Regions from separate parts of the Homo sapiens genome. Here regions 1, 2 and 3 are each linked to region 4. The links are contacts of gene promoters, found by promoter capture Hi-C in human tissues and cell types (Jung and others, 2019). All regions are on one chromosome and are shown on one strand. Each heading gives the region's core, a stretch centred on a gene start or on the middle of the fragment in contact. The rest is flanking DNA. Distances are from core to core; before and after follow the strand shown.

Region 1 (3,066 bases), core at 313-2,812, 510 kb after region 4:
AGCTGTCTCAGCCCCAGCATTAGTATGGGACCTAATTGTTAAGTTTTTAAACCTGTGGGAACAAGTCAGGAGGTTTATTTATCCTCAAGACCATGTCGTCCTTATAACAGTTTATTTAAAGGTACACTGAGGTCTTACATCCTTTGAGTCAAGTCAAAATGCATTGAGCACCCTTTATTTACCATGGTGATGTATGGAGGAATTATGTCCAATACTAACAAGACATTCATCCTGGAGAATTTATTCTCCCAACTGGAAATGCCAATTTGAAATTTCCCATGCCCATTAAACCACTGAGGCCTGAAAAGTACACTCTACTGTGTTTCTTCTTTTAATTTTTTTTTTTTTTTACATTTTTTTTGGGAAATAGGAGGAGGTGTGACAGTTTGGTATCTCTGTTTTTCTTTAAATGTATAAATTTCCTCTTGAAATTGTCCCCAAGCAACAGCGATTTTGTTTTGTTTCAGATTGCCGTATTGTTTTGAAGTCTTTAGAAAATGTATTTGAAGTGTGACATGTATCAGATACTCCTTGTTGGGCCATATGGAATGTTGCCCTGCTGGCTCCAGGCCCATTCATGGCTTAAACTCTGAGATTGTGTCTTGTGTGTCAGATGCGCCGTCTGACCCATTTGTTCCATTCACTGCCTTCATGCGGGAACCACAATGATGGGTTTTTGCGAAGTGCTCCATGAGGGAAGCCTGTCTGAGCCACGCCGGCCTTAGCAGTTGACCCAAGAGACCTCAGTTTTCCCCCTCAGTATCAGTCAAAAGTCAAAAAGGATCCCTTCATTATAAAAGCTCAATCATTTGTCCATGTTTTGACAGTAACACGTATTCTGCCTGTCACAAATGGGTTAAGTCCTCCCACCCTGCCCCAGCAGAAGTAAGAGCTGGTTCCTAGCCCAAGCTCCGCAGGGGCTCTGGTGCTGGCCTTGCTCCGGCCTGGTTGCAGTGTTTCCTCCAAGGCTTCCTGTGGGAAATTGACCTGCAGGTGAGTGGAGGTTTCCCCTGTTCAGCTCTGGGGAGTCAGGGCTGCTCCCTCAGCCTGGATCCTGGGGTCTTCACCTTCACAAGGAGGGGTTGTCTGGCTTCTACTTCTGCCATTGAGGTGGGAGGAGACCAACGTTATGAAACGGAGATGGGCCGCCCAGGCTGCCCGGGAACTAGGCTCTTCCCTCCTTCCTGCTTCCTGCTTCCTGCCATCTGTAGCTGCAATGGCTGCTAGGTGTGCTCTGGCTGCTGCTTCTTGCGGTAATGGTGGTGATCGTGATAATGATAAAGACAGTGGTGATAATGATGATGACAATGACAAGAGCTACCATTCACTGACACCCCATGATAAAGAGGCTAAGGGGGTGCTGTTGATGGTCCCTGTCATGGTGCATGTGCGTTTACCTTTTCTCCTACCCAGGTTTATAGCTGAGGAGACTCAGAGATGATTGTTTAGGCTTCAGAAGCCCATCTTACTCTCTTCTTGGGGTCAACAGCAGTTAGATCAGAGGGAATCACCTGATCCTTTTCCATGTCAGTGTGTCTGTGCCATAGCCAGGTGGTCTGACCATCCTCTCCTGTTGACCAGACAAGCTAGAGAAAAATCTCCTGCTGGTCACTCCTTGGACCTGACATGCCAATGCCGATACTGCCTGGTGCTTGGGGATAAACAGAGAATGTGACTAGTTGGGAGAAAGACAAAATGCCAATACATGGTTGATGGGGCATACATTGAACCCTTGGCCCTGTGTTTGGCCCATCTCCAACAACCAGGCCAGAGCTGGTGGCCTTGTAGCCCATGGGACTCTGGTTTCCTGCTCCCTGTGAGTCACAACCCGCACGTCCAACCTTGGTCACTCAACCTCTTGTTGCCATGTTGCTTCCTTTCCTGGTGGGGAAGTCCTGCATGAGGAGCTGTGCTTCGGGATGGCTGGGGAGGGCTGGATTTCCTGGCAGAAACTAAAGATGGCTGGGACCTGTTCTAATCGCCATGTCAAACACAGTGGGTCTTTGGGTGCTGCTGCCTGATGGATTGGACGGTGTTTCTACCTGATCTGGTACCTGCTGGAGACAAGGTGCACAAACTGTCAAATGAGTGGCTGCAAGGGAAGCCTGGTGGCAGGCAGCAGAGGCCCTGACACTTCCTCCAGACACAAGTGGGACATGCTTCTGTTACTGTGGTGGGAAGTTTGGGGATGTCAGTCACAGCCATTCACCCTTTGGGTTCTGACCAATGGAGGAAGTGACAAAAAAGCCGGATTGGAATCAAGGGACATCTCTTTAACTGATGAGAATGCTTGAAAATTGTAAAATACAGACCTCCTGGTCAACTGTGCTGAAGGACATGGCCTGGGCCTAAAGTCCTGTTGGCACTTTCCCCTCCTTGCACCTTCGGTGGATGACAGCCAGCTCTAGGGGAGAGCCCGCCTGTCTTACCACCCAGATACAGCCTGAGACGCTGAAGCTGGGTGAGTGGGAGCCTTGCTGGCCCCAACCCTGCAGAGCCAGTGACTGAGGCAGAGCAACCCATCCTACTAACTAGGGAGCACCCCCAACCTCATCCACAAGAGGAGGAAGAGGAGGGCCTGGCGAGAGGACTTAGAAGCATTCGCTCCAAAGAGAAAGTGAATAAGCAGAGAAGCAAATGAAGGGAAATCCTCTGAGATGGGTGTGCTTGGTGCTCTTGTGCTACCTGTCCATCTCTGTTTGGCACTGACAATTCAAAGACCAAAATCTCACCCTGGGGGAAGAGCTGGTGCCTTCTCCAGCCCTCATGTCTCATCATCCTGGCTAAGACGCAATAAAAGCTTCACCGGGGAATGCCTCAAAAGAAACTGTTTGCCAAAACTCTGACTGATGTGAGGAGAACCCTGACTGGAGTTAACAGACTTGGTCTTTCCTGGGTCTCCAGATGTAGTACTTCCTAGGGTTTTCTGGCCAACAGGCCATTTGCAGGGATTTCCAGGGTGTGGTTGTTCACTGTCCTCACCTCTGCATTCTCCCAACTGAGAAACAAACCCAGGGAGCCACATGAGATCACATGCCAGCCCCTTGCTCAGAGAGCAGGGCTCTC
Region 2 (3,375 bases), core at 128-2,627, 770 kb after region 4:
TGTGAAATAATTTTTAGCTGAAGTGATGATTTATAGATGAATATTTATTCCAAAAAGCACTACTCATATATTTTAAATATTTGTTTATGTCATCCACTATCTTGTGTAACTTGTCTCATTAACTACACTGTAAGGTAAGAATCTTATGTTATTAATTTATGCTCTGTAGTGTCTGGCAGTATAGAAAATGGTTATTTAATAGATGTTAATAAATTTTATTGATATATCTGTCAATTAGTAGTTAATAAATCACTATAATTAGAGATCATGACTTCAGATGATGTCATAGAAGTTGGAAACACTTCAGGCAATTTTTTAGAAGTTGCTTATTGTTGGGCCGGGCGCTGTGGTTCACGCTTGTAATCCCAGCACTTTGGGAGGCCAAGGCGGGCAGATCACGAGATCAGGAGATCGAGACCATCCTGGCTAACACAGTGAAACCCTGTCTCTACTGAAAATACAAAAAATTAGCCGGGCATGGTGGCGGGTAGCTGTAGTCCCAGCTACTCGGGAGGCTGAGGCAGGAAAATGGCGTGAACCCAGGAGGCAGAGCTTGCAGTGAGCTGAGATTGCACCACTGCACTCCAGCTTGGGCGGCAGAGCAAGACTCTGTCTCAAAAAAAAAAAAAAAAAAAGTTGCTTATTGTTGATTATGATGGGATATGAAAGCCAAAATTCAGTGGCCCCTCAATTTCAAAGGCATTTCTGGCTTATTCGTTATGAATCACAAGGCAAGACTTTCTTTTCAAATATCATTTTTCTGTGATGTTTTCACATGCTTTATTTTGCTATAACATTTGGATGAATTGTAACTTAAAAAAAATTATGAAGCAAATATCAGTGCTCAGGGAGGTATTCAATTGCCTGAGATCTTGCAAGGCCTTAAACACTCTTCAAAACAAGCCCCTCCTAGCTCCTAAGCCCACGCCCTTCCTGGATGACCAGATAGAGAGTGATTCTCATTCTCATGAAATGCAGAGTGCTCAGGGACATGAATGTGTGAGGACAGAGTTTGGCCCAGGAGCAGTGTTTCTATAATTTAATAGTGGTATTACTCCCCTTGGAGAAAGTTGCATGAACACAAGTTACTCATTGATTGAATCTTGACCATGCAAGTGTGTTTCCAAAATCAATCACTCTTAAGTTGTTCCACATGTACTTGTAAATGTTAATTTAATGGCCTGTGTAACTGGGCTTTTGTTGTTGTTGTCTATCTGCTGATACTTAAGGTAGAGGAAGTTGTAATGTAGTGTTAAGATTCTGAGTCAGATAACTTGGGTTTTAAAACCATTACCAACACTATATACTAGCTGTGTAATATTGGCAAATCATTTACTCAGTAATGTTTAGATTCCTTATTTATAAAATAGAGTTAAAGGTATCACCTCATGACAAAATTGCTCTGAAGATTAAATGAAATAATGTGTACAATATTCATGGCATAATGCCAGGTACATGCTAAGCATTCAATAAAAATCAGCAATTATTAATATTGTATTACTATCTTTATAAAATCATATAATCAGGATTAAAGGATCTCAAAAGTCATTGGATTAAGCTACTCATCCAATAATTTAATCCCCCCTACAATTTTTCCACCAAGAGATCTCCTAGACTATGATTGAATACTTATTATTAGATAACTCTGACTTTTCAAACTTTCTCATATTGAACCAAATTATGCTTAAACCTGTAGCTTTCACCATTTGGAAATATACAGAACAAAAGTAGACCCTTTCCTCATGATAGCTCTTTGTGAATTTGAAAATATCTCTAATCATAAGCTATTCTCTAAACTTCCTTGAAACTTACTATCTCTCCCTGAAATTTTCACTTGATCTTTCTCTTTCCCTTCAACACCAAAATGTTGGAAAGAATTGTTATAAATAATTGTCTCAACTTCCTCTAGTTTCATTTCTTCTTCAACAGCTTGGATATAGAGTCTGATTCAACAACTCTCCAAGCTGAAGCATGAGGGCTACCCAGGAGTCAAAATAAGATGAAAAACACAGAGAAATAATAACATTGGCCCTTTTTTATTGAATCCTTTATAGTGTTTGAATCATTATACTAAGAATTTTACATATATTTTCTCACTGAATCATCACTAGGCCCTATGTGAAGTATATATTGGTATTATTATCTCTATTTTACTGTTGAGGAAAACGAGTCTCTGAGAGTTTGAATTTTTCAACATCCTGCAGCTTGAAAGGGTGGTGAGTGGATCCAGGTTTGTACGTGGGTGTTTTCTTCCTCCAAAGTCCCTGCACTTAAACACCAGATTTATAAATAAAGTTAGATGAATATGGGAAGGAAGGAAGAGATAAACCATCAGATCAGTTGATATTATTGTTGTTTACACATTATGTAAAATATATGCTTAAGAAATAAAAAAGAAATATAAGACATGACCTTTTTTCTCATATAAGGAAGCTTATAATATAGCAAATACACACACATATGTACACATGAAAAATGACAAGAGAAGGAAGGATAGCAGTATAAACACGTATTTTATATGAGACATCTCTCCTTTTAATTATTTTTTATATTTTAAAAATTGTTTATAAATATATAGGTATAATGACAGCGGTGGAGATACATAGGCATAGGTACAGCTAATGATAAAGACAAGGAGATATAAAGATATAGATAAAGACTATAGACAGATATTAATATAGGGATATAGATATTTAGAGATAGAAGTAAAAACAGAAAAAAAAAAGATATTTAAAGTAAAACTATGAACCAGAAGGTTATACATCAAATTTAGGACAGTGGTTGTTTTGGGGAGGAAATGAGAGAATAGGATAAGTGTAGGGCTGGGGAGAGAGGAAACGTCTGTAATGTTCTGTTTATTTTATATATATAAAAATGCCTGGGCTGGGCAGTGTGGTACATGCCTGTAATCCCAGCACTTTGGAAGGCCAAGGCAGGAGGATCACTTGAGCCCAGGAATTCAAGACCAGCCTGGGCAGCATAGGGAGACCCTGTCTTTACATCAAATTTTAAAAAGCTGGGTGTTGGGGCACAGGCCTGTGACTCAACCTCCCAGGCTCAAGTGATCCCAGCTACTTGGGAGGCTGAGGTGGGAGGATCACTTGAGCCCAGGAGGTTGAGGCTGCAGTGAGCCACAATCCCACTATTGCACTCCAACCTGGGCAACAGAGTGAGATCTTGTCTTGAAAAAAAAAAAAGACAGAAATCTGAATAAAAATATAAATAGAAAAGGGAGGGGTATGGAGGGACAGCTTCAAATCTTAATATTAATATTTCGGCCTTACATTAGAATCATATAAATGATACTATCCTGTAAGACATTATATTATTTAGATTTATAAAACTATGTTCTCATAAAAGAGAGCCAAACTGTAA
Region 3 (2,954 bases), core at 78-2,577, 930 kb after region 4:
GACCTCAAGTAATCCACCCACCTCAGCCTCCCAAAGTGTTGGGATTACAGGCATGAGCCACGGCATCCGGCCCTGGAAGGAGTTTTTGTATAGTATATTAGTTGTCAACATATGTGGAAGGGAGGAAGCAAGCAGGATTAGACAGAGGGCAAAGGAGAACTGTGATGCAGGCCCACAAAGTCTCACCAAGCCCCCTTGAAACATATGTGACTTATTAGAGTTGTCCCAGGCTGACCCACAGTGGCCAGGCCTTCATGCCCCTGCCTCCTGCAGTCACTGGCTGTGGGCCTCTCTGGAAGGGGCATATGTGCTCTTGGGTCGGCGGAGACAGATTGTGAAGGGACTAACAACCAGAGGCTACCAGGAGCAGGGACACTGAGTTCCTCCTTGAAGGTTGATTTGGGTGGAGCATCTCCATCTCTACCACAGAGATTTAAGGAGATAAAATTTAGGATCATCTTAATAGATGTAGACAAAGCATCTGATAAACTTCAACACGAAAATGATATGAAAACCTCTTGGCAAACCAGTAATAGAAGGGATAATCTCTACCTTGATTTGCCTGTCAGAAACCTATTGTAAGCATCATACTCACTTTAATGGTGAGACTCAAACAGTCCCATTAAAGTCAGGAAAAAACATACGATGCCCTTTATCACTATATCTGTTCAACACTGCGTTAGCACTAGCCAGTGCAATAAGATAAAATAAATAGAAAAATTAGAACTAGAAAATTAGAAACCAAGACTAGATAACTAGAAAAATTATACAAAACTAGAAATATAAAAACTAGAAAATAACTACAAAAATTTCTTCTTATTTATAGATAATATAATTATCCCCATTTAAAAGCAAAGAAAATATACAAAGTTTTGGATCTCTACATTCAGAATAATTTCAATAAAAAAAGCAATCCTGTAGGATTGCTAGAACAAACTGATCCTATAATTAATATGAAAGCACATATGGCTGAGAATAGCCCAAACATTTTTTAAGAATAACAAGGTGGGTGAGATTTGCTCTATCAAATATAAAGACTTAGCATAAAGCTTGAGGGCTTACAGCAGTGTAAGAGGGATAGACAAATAAATGGAACAGAATGCGGAGCCCACAGCAGATTCAAGCATACAGTATATGGAAACTAAAATTTAATAGCAGTAGAATTAAAAACCAATAAAGGACAGACTAGTAAGTAAATTGTTATAGGATAATTGTTTATAAATATAAAAAACTCAACCAAAAATAAATTCTAATTGATTTAAGTGCCTAAAATATGAACATATTTTTAAAAATCATAAAATATAAGAGATGTCTTTATGACTTTGGAATGGAAAAGATACAAAAAATACAAGTCATAAAGTAAAACATCTATTGTATAGTGATGATGGGGTTGCACAACTCTGTGAATATATTAGAACTACAGAGTTATACTTTTAAAGGGTGAACTTTTTGGTTTATTAATTATATTTCAATAAGCTGTTATAAAAAACATTGACACACTTTGCTGTTAAGATATAAAAGTTCTGATCCCTGAAAGACATTGTCAATAAATTTAAAAGTCAAGCCACATTTCTGGCAGAAAATATTTGTTATATAGTACCAGAATATAGAAATAGCTTCTCTGAATCAATACAAATAAACCACTCAATATAAAAATGAGCAGTCCGGGCGCGGTGGCTCATGCCTGTAATCCCAGCACTTTGGGAGGCCGAGGCAGGCAGATCATGAGGTCAGGAAATCGAGACCATCCTGGCTAACATGGTGAAACCCTGTCTCTACTAAAAATACAAAAAATTAGCTGGGCGTGGTGGTGGGTGCCTGTAGTCCCAGCTACTTGGGAGGCTGAGGCAGGAGAATGGTGTGAACCCAGGAGGCGGAGGTTGCAGTGAGCAGAGATTGCACCACTGCACTCCAGCCTGGGCAACAGAGCGAGACTCTGCCTCAAAAAAAAAAAAAAAAAAAAAAAAAAAGAGCAAAAGATATGAACAGGCAATTGTCAGAAAGTGAAACCCTAATAGCCAATAATGGCATATGAAAATGTTCTCATTTCCACACTGGTAGGGAAAATGTCCTCACTGCTAAGGAAATTAAAATAGAAGTGAGATTCCATTTCATATCTATTGGGCAAAAGTTGGCACTACCAAGGGTTGGCAAGAGCATGGAGAAATAGGACATCATACACTGCTGGTCACAGTGTATATGTAATGAACCAATTTAGAGAACAATTTTGTAAAATCTGATCAAGTCAAAGATGCTCAAAACCAGACATTTCACTTGTGGATATAGCCCTGTTTTTGCAAAGAGAGTTTCAAGAGTGCATTGTAACATTGTTTGTAAAAGCAGAGAGAGAGAAGGATACATACCAGTGTCAGGATTGTTGGTTCTCCTGGGAGACAAAAGAAGAAAAGTTTGGGGATAGAACTTTAGCTCTAGCTGTAATCCTTTATTGCTTAAAAAAGGTCTGAAGCGGCTGGGCACAGTGGCTCACACCTGTAATCCCAGCACTTTGGGAAGTCGAGGCAGGTGGATCACCTGAGGTCAGAAGTTTGAGACCAGCCTGGCCAATATGATGAAACCCTGTCTCTACTAAAAATACAAAAAATTAGCCAGGTGTGGTGGCACATGCCTGTAATCCCAGCTACTTGGGAGGCTGAGGCAGGAGAATCGCTTGAACCTGGGAGGCAGAGGCTGCAGTGAGCTGAGATTGTGCCATTGCTCTCCAGCCCGGGCAACAAGAATAAGACTCCGTCTCAAAAAACAAAACAAAACAAAACAAAACTGAAGCAAATATAGCAAATATTAATGTCCATTAATTTTTAAGCAAATATAGCAACTATTAATGTCCATTAATTTTGGAGAATGGACTTTTTTTTGACATGTGGTTATCAGTTACATTGTTTTGTTGTTGTTGTTGTTCACCTCCTAGCCCTGTTTCCTGTAAGACCTTGGACCTA
Region 4 (3,104 bases), core at 591-3,090:
AAGTTATCTATCCTGTCCTTTATCCATTCGTCAATGGAATCTTATTATTTGTTTCTAGTTGTGTGAACTTTACATTCATTTTCTTGTTCATCTTTCTGATTCAACTGTGAACCTTTGTATCTAATTCTGTCCCACTGACCTGCCTGTTTTTGCTTCAGTACTACCCAAGACTCTGCCATTTTAATAACAACACGTTCTACTCAGGCAGCTATTTAAAACCATCTTAGTATAATGAAACAGACATGGTCTTCAGTGTGAGTTAGCTGTTTGTTACCTTGGGCAAGATACTTGACTCTTCTGGGCCTCAGTCCCATTTGTGAAATTGGGGTAAACAATTCTTACGCCTCCCTAACAGGATGGCTGTGATTAAAAGCTAGTAATGCCAAACAATCACCTTTTCATTAGATGTCAATCTACTATCCTCAAATAACCAACAAGCAAATTCTAACATCAAGGGAGGGATTCATTTATAAGCAAATGTGACCTTGTGTGTAGAAACACAAAGCAGGTAAAGCCTCACTTGTCTGTTTTCGTATTTACTTTCCTGGGTCTTGACAACTAATACGTTAATGAAAAACAAAAACAAAAACAAAAAAGTGGCCAGGCGCGGTGGTTCACGCCTGTAATCCCAGCACTTTGGGAGGCCGAGGTGGACGGATCGCTTGACCCCAGGAGTCCGAGACCAGCCTGGGCAACATAGTGAAACCCTCTCTCTACCAAAAATAAAAATAAAAAAAATTAGCCGGGCGTGGTGGCGCGTGCCTGTAGTCCCAAATACTCGGGAGGCTGAGGTCGGAGCATCACCTGAGCCCGGAGAGGTCGAGGCTGCAGTGAGCCATGATCGCGCTACAGCATTCCAGCCTGGGCAACAGAGCAAGACCTTGTCTCAAAAAAAGCGGGGGGAAGGGGGTGACAATAACCCCAAAACATCAGTCCTGCAAGATTTTTCAACTACTCTCTTCCCCCAAACAAAAACATAAAACTTCGCAAATGGGCAATCAGGACAACCTGATCTGCCCCTCTATCCTTGCCACTTGTCTAATTCTGAAGTCTGAGCGACAATCCATAATTGGAATGCGAAACGCCTTTCAATGGTAAAACGCACGCTTGCCTAATGAAGACACTAACGTTTAGTTGGCGACTGAGCCGTCCTGGTTCACAGATTTCGATTTCGACCCTCCGGAGCATCAACGGCTCGGGAGGAAACTGAGGCCCCGGGCGGGTCAGAAGAGCCCAGCCCAAGGTCATCCGGGAGTCCGGGTAGGCCGGGCCCCGGGGATCTCCCAGCCCGGCCCGGCCCGGCCCGGCCCGGCCCGGCCCGGCCCGCGCTGCCGCTCACCTCAGCAGCGCCAGGAAGGCTGCGGGCTCCACGTCCGGCAGCTCGATCTCGGCCGACGTGGTGGCCATGCCGCCGTTGAACATGGCGTCAAAGACGGCGCTGCCGGCCGCCAGCACGAAGCGGTGGGCGGGGATGCGCTGCGGGCCCCCAGCGGCGGCGGCGCCGCGACCCTTGCCCAGTACGAAGCGCACATCGCTCAGCAGCTCCGAGTTGAAGAGGAAGGCGAAGCGCTCCTTCAGCGACGCCTTGGTCGCCTGCCAGTTGTAGAGAGGTTCCCGCTGCAGGGGGAGCAGGGGCCCCAGAGAGGACGGTGAGGGCGGCGGCGGCGGCCCCGCGGGGCCCGGCTCCGCCTCAGCCCCCGACGCCTGCTCCCCAGCTGCGGCAGGCCCGAGTGAGGCCATCCTCCAGCTGCGCGGTTGCCCACGTTATGGACAAAACTCCGCCGCCATCGCCCAGGCCGCCTCCGGAGGCCGGCGCTGCCTCCCTGCCTTCCGGGAAAGGCGCTTCCGGGGGCCTCGCGCCTCCGCAGGCCCCTCCCTGACCGCGCGCGCCCCCGCACGCCCGGGTTGCCGCTGTGCGCGGCCGCGGGAGGTGTAACAGGACTGGACTCCCGGCAGCCCCAGGGCAGGGGCGTGGGGAGCTGGTCCTAGCTCAGCGCTCCCGGAGGTGGAGCTTCTGCAGGCTGGGTGCTGCCGGGCCTACGGGCACCCACCCCCTGGCTCAGTGCCCTGGGTATTCTGACTCAGTAGGTCTGGGGTAGGGCCTGAGAATTTGTAATTTTAAGATGCATCGTGGATCTGCAGGCGGCTCTCACGGCTGCCTTTTTCTTCCTGCAGGCCCCTTATCACCAAGTCCAGCGCCCCCATTGTGTATCTGGGACATGTCCCAAGGCCTGTCCCGAGGAGTGTTTTGCCTGGAAGTGGAGGGGCAGGAAAGTATGGCCAAGGGAACACGTGAGGGAGGGGATGACATGACTTCCCACAACCCTGTACCCCAAGCGTGGCCAAGTCGCCGCTCCAGAAGGCCGCGAAACCCGTGGAAATTCCGGAAGCAGAGGTGGAAGGCTTAGAACCCCAGTGACCTCTCCCCAGGTCCGCAGGTCCCTTTCCCTTCTAATTGACCCTTTGGTTCCGTCCTCTGGGCCTAAGAGACATTTCCTTCTACTGCTTCCACCCCTGTATTTGAAACCCCTCGTGCTTGCCCACCTTCTCTTGTAGCGCTTTTCAGTCCTTGCACTGAACCACTGCCTAAGCTTGAAATTTAAAAAATTAAAAACTAAAACACACACACAATGGAAAAGGCTGTATTATCCCTTCCCAGGCAGTATTTACAACCCGGTCATCATGATTGGGGGACCGAGGCCTTCCTTTTTCTCCCTTCAGTGAGGCAGGCCCTGAGTTAAGTCAGCTGTCAAAAGCAGAACGTAGAAAACCCAAGAAATAGTCCTTGACCAGGCACGTATAGTTGGAAACACCTGTTCTTTGCAGGAAGAGCCTTACAGATTACAAATGCCGTCAAGTAAATAGTAAACCCCAAACCTGGGTTTCTCCTGTAAAATCACTCCACTTGTGAAACCACCAGAGGGGACTTCCAGCTGTTAGGCATTTAGAATGGTAACTTCTTTGGGAGAGGAACGTGCTTGGGAAGAGACTTAAAGTAGTAGGGGCTGAAATAGTGGATGCACAACCCCTTCCCCATTGCCAGCCGGCAATTCCTAAAGACAAAGGGACATCATGCTACTAATGATACCATTATCACACCTAAC

What was found. Contacts are between HindIII fragments. The study calls those that stand out against the background at their distance.
Region 1: a contact is called between a fragment that was not itself captured here and the fragment with the promoter of BTBD1 in region 4, in 1 of the 25 tissues and cell types used here (liver).
Region 2: a fragment that was not itself captured here is called in contact with the fragment with the promoter of BTBD1 in region 4 in 1 of the 25 tissues and cell types used here (lymphoblastoid cells).
Region 3: a contact is called between a fragment that was not itself captured here and the fragment with the promoter of BTBD1 in region 4, in 1 of the 25 tissues and cell types used here (mesenchymal stem cells).

The regions. Positions count from the first base shown.
Region 1 is chr15:83,578,323-83,581,388 of GRCh38, forward strand. The region is part of intron 6 of SH3GL3 (SH3 domain containing GRB2 like 3, endophilin A3); the gene reads left to right. Among named protein-coding and RNA genes, the nearest start is that of ADAMTSL3, 74 kb to the right of the region's middle. The HindIII fragment of the contact is 6,416 bases long and covers 1-3,066 here.
Region 2 is chr15:83,834,618-83,837,992 of GRCh38, forward strand. All of the region lies in intron 6 of ADAMTSL3 (ADAMTS like 3), which reads left to right. Among named protein-coding and RNA genes, the nearest start is that of ADAMTSL3, 180 kb to the left of the region's middle. The HindIII fragment of the contact is 3,077 bases long and covers 1-2,916 here.
Region 3 is chr15:83,994,838-83,997,791 of GRCh38, forward strand. All of the region lies in intron 23 of ADAMTSL3 (ADAMTS like 3), which reads left to right. Among named protein-coding and RNA genes, the nearest start is that of GOLGA6L4, 240 kb to the right of the region's middle. The HindIII fragment of the contact is 7,176 bases long and covers 1-2,954 here.
Region 4 is chr15:83,065,412-83,068,515 of GRCh38, forward strand. It overlaps BTBD1 (BTB domain containing 1), which reads right to left and starts at 1,841. Exons shown (of 8, transcript NM_025238.4): 1 at 1,340-1,841. The coding sequence starts at 1,740. It overlaps MIR4515 (microRNA 4515), which reads left to right and starts at 1,924; the gene lies at 1,924-2,004. RefSeq lists silencers at 1,159-1,328, 1,569-2,048 and enhancers at 2,109-2,228, 2,239-2,288. The HindIII fragment of the contact is 16,507 bases long and covers 1-3,104 here.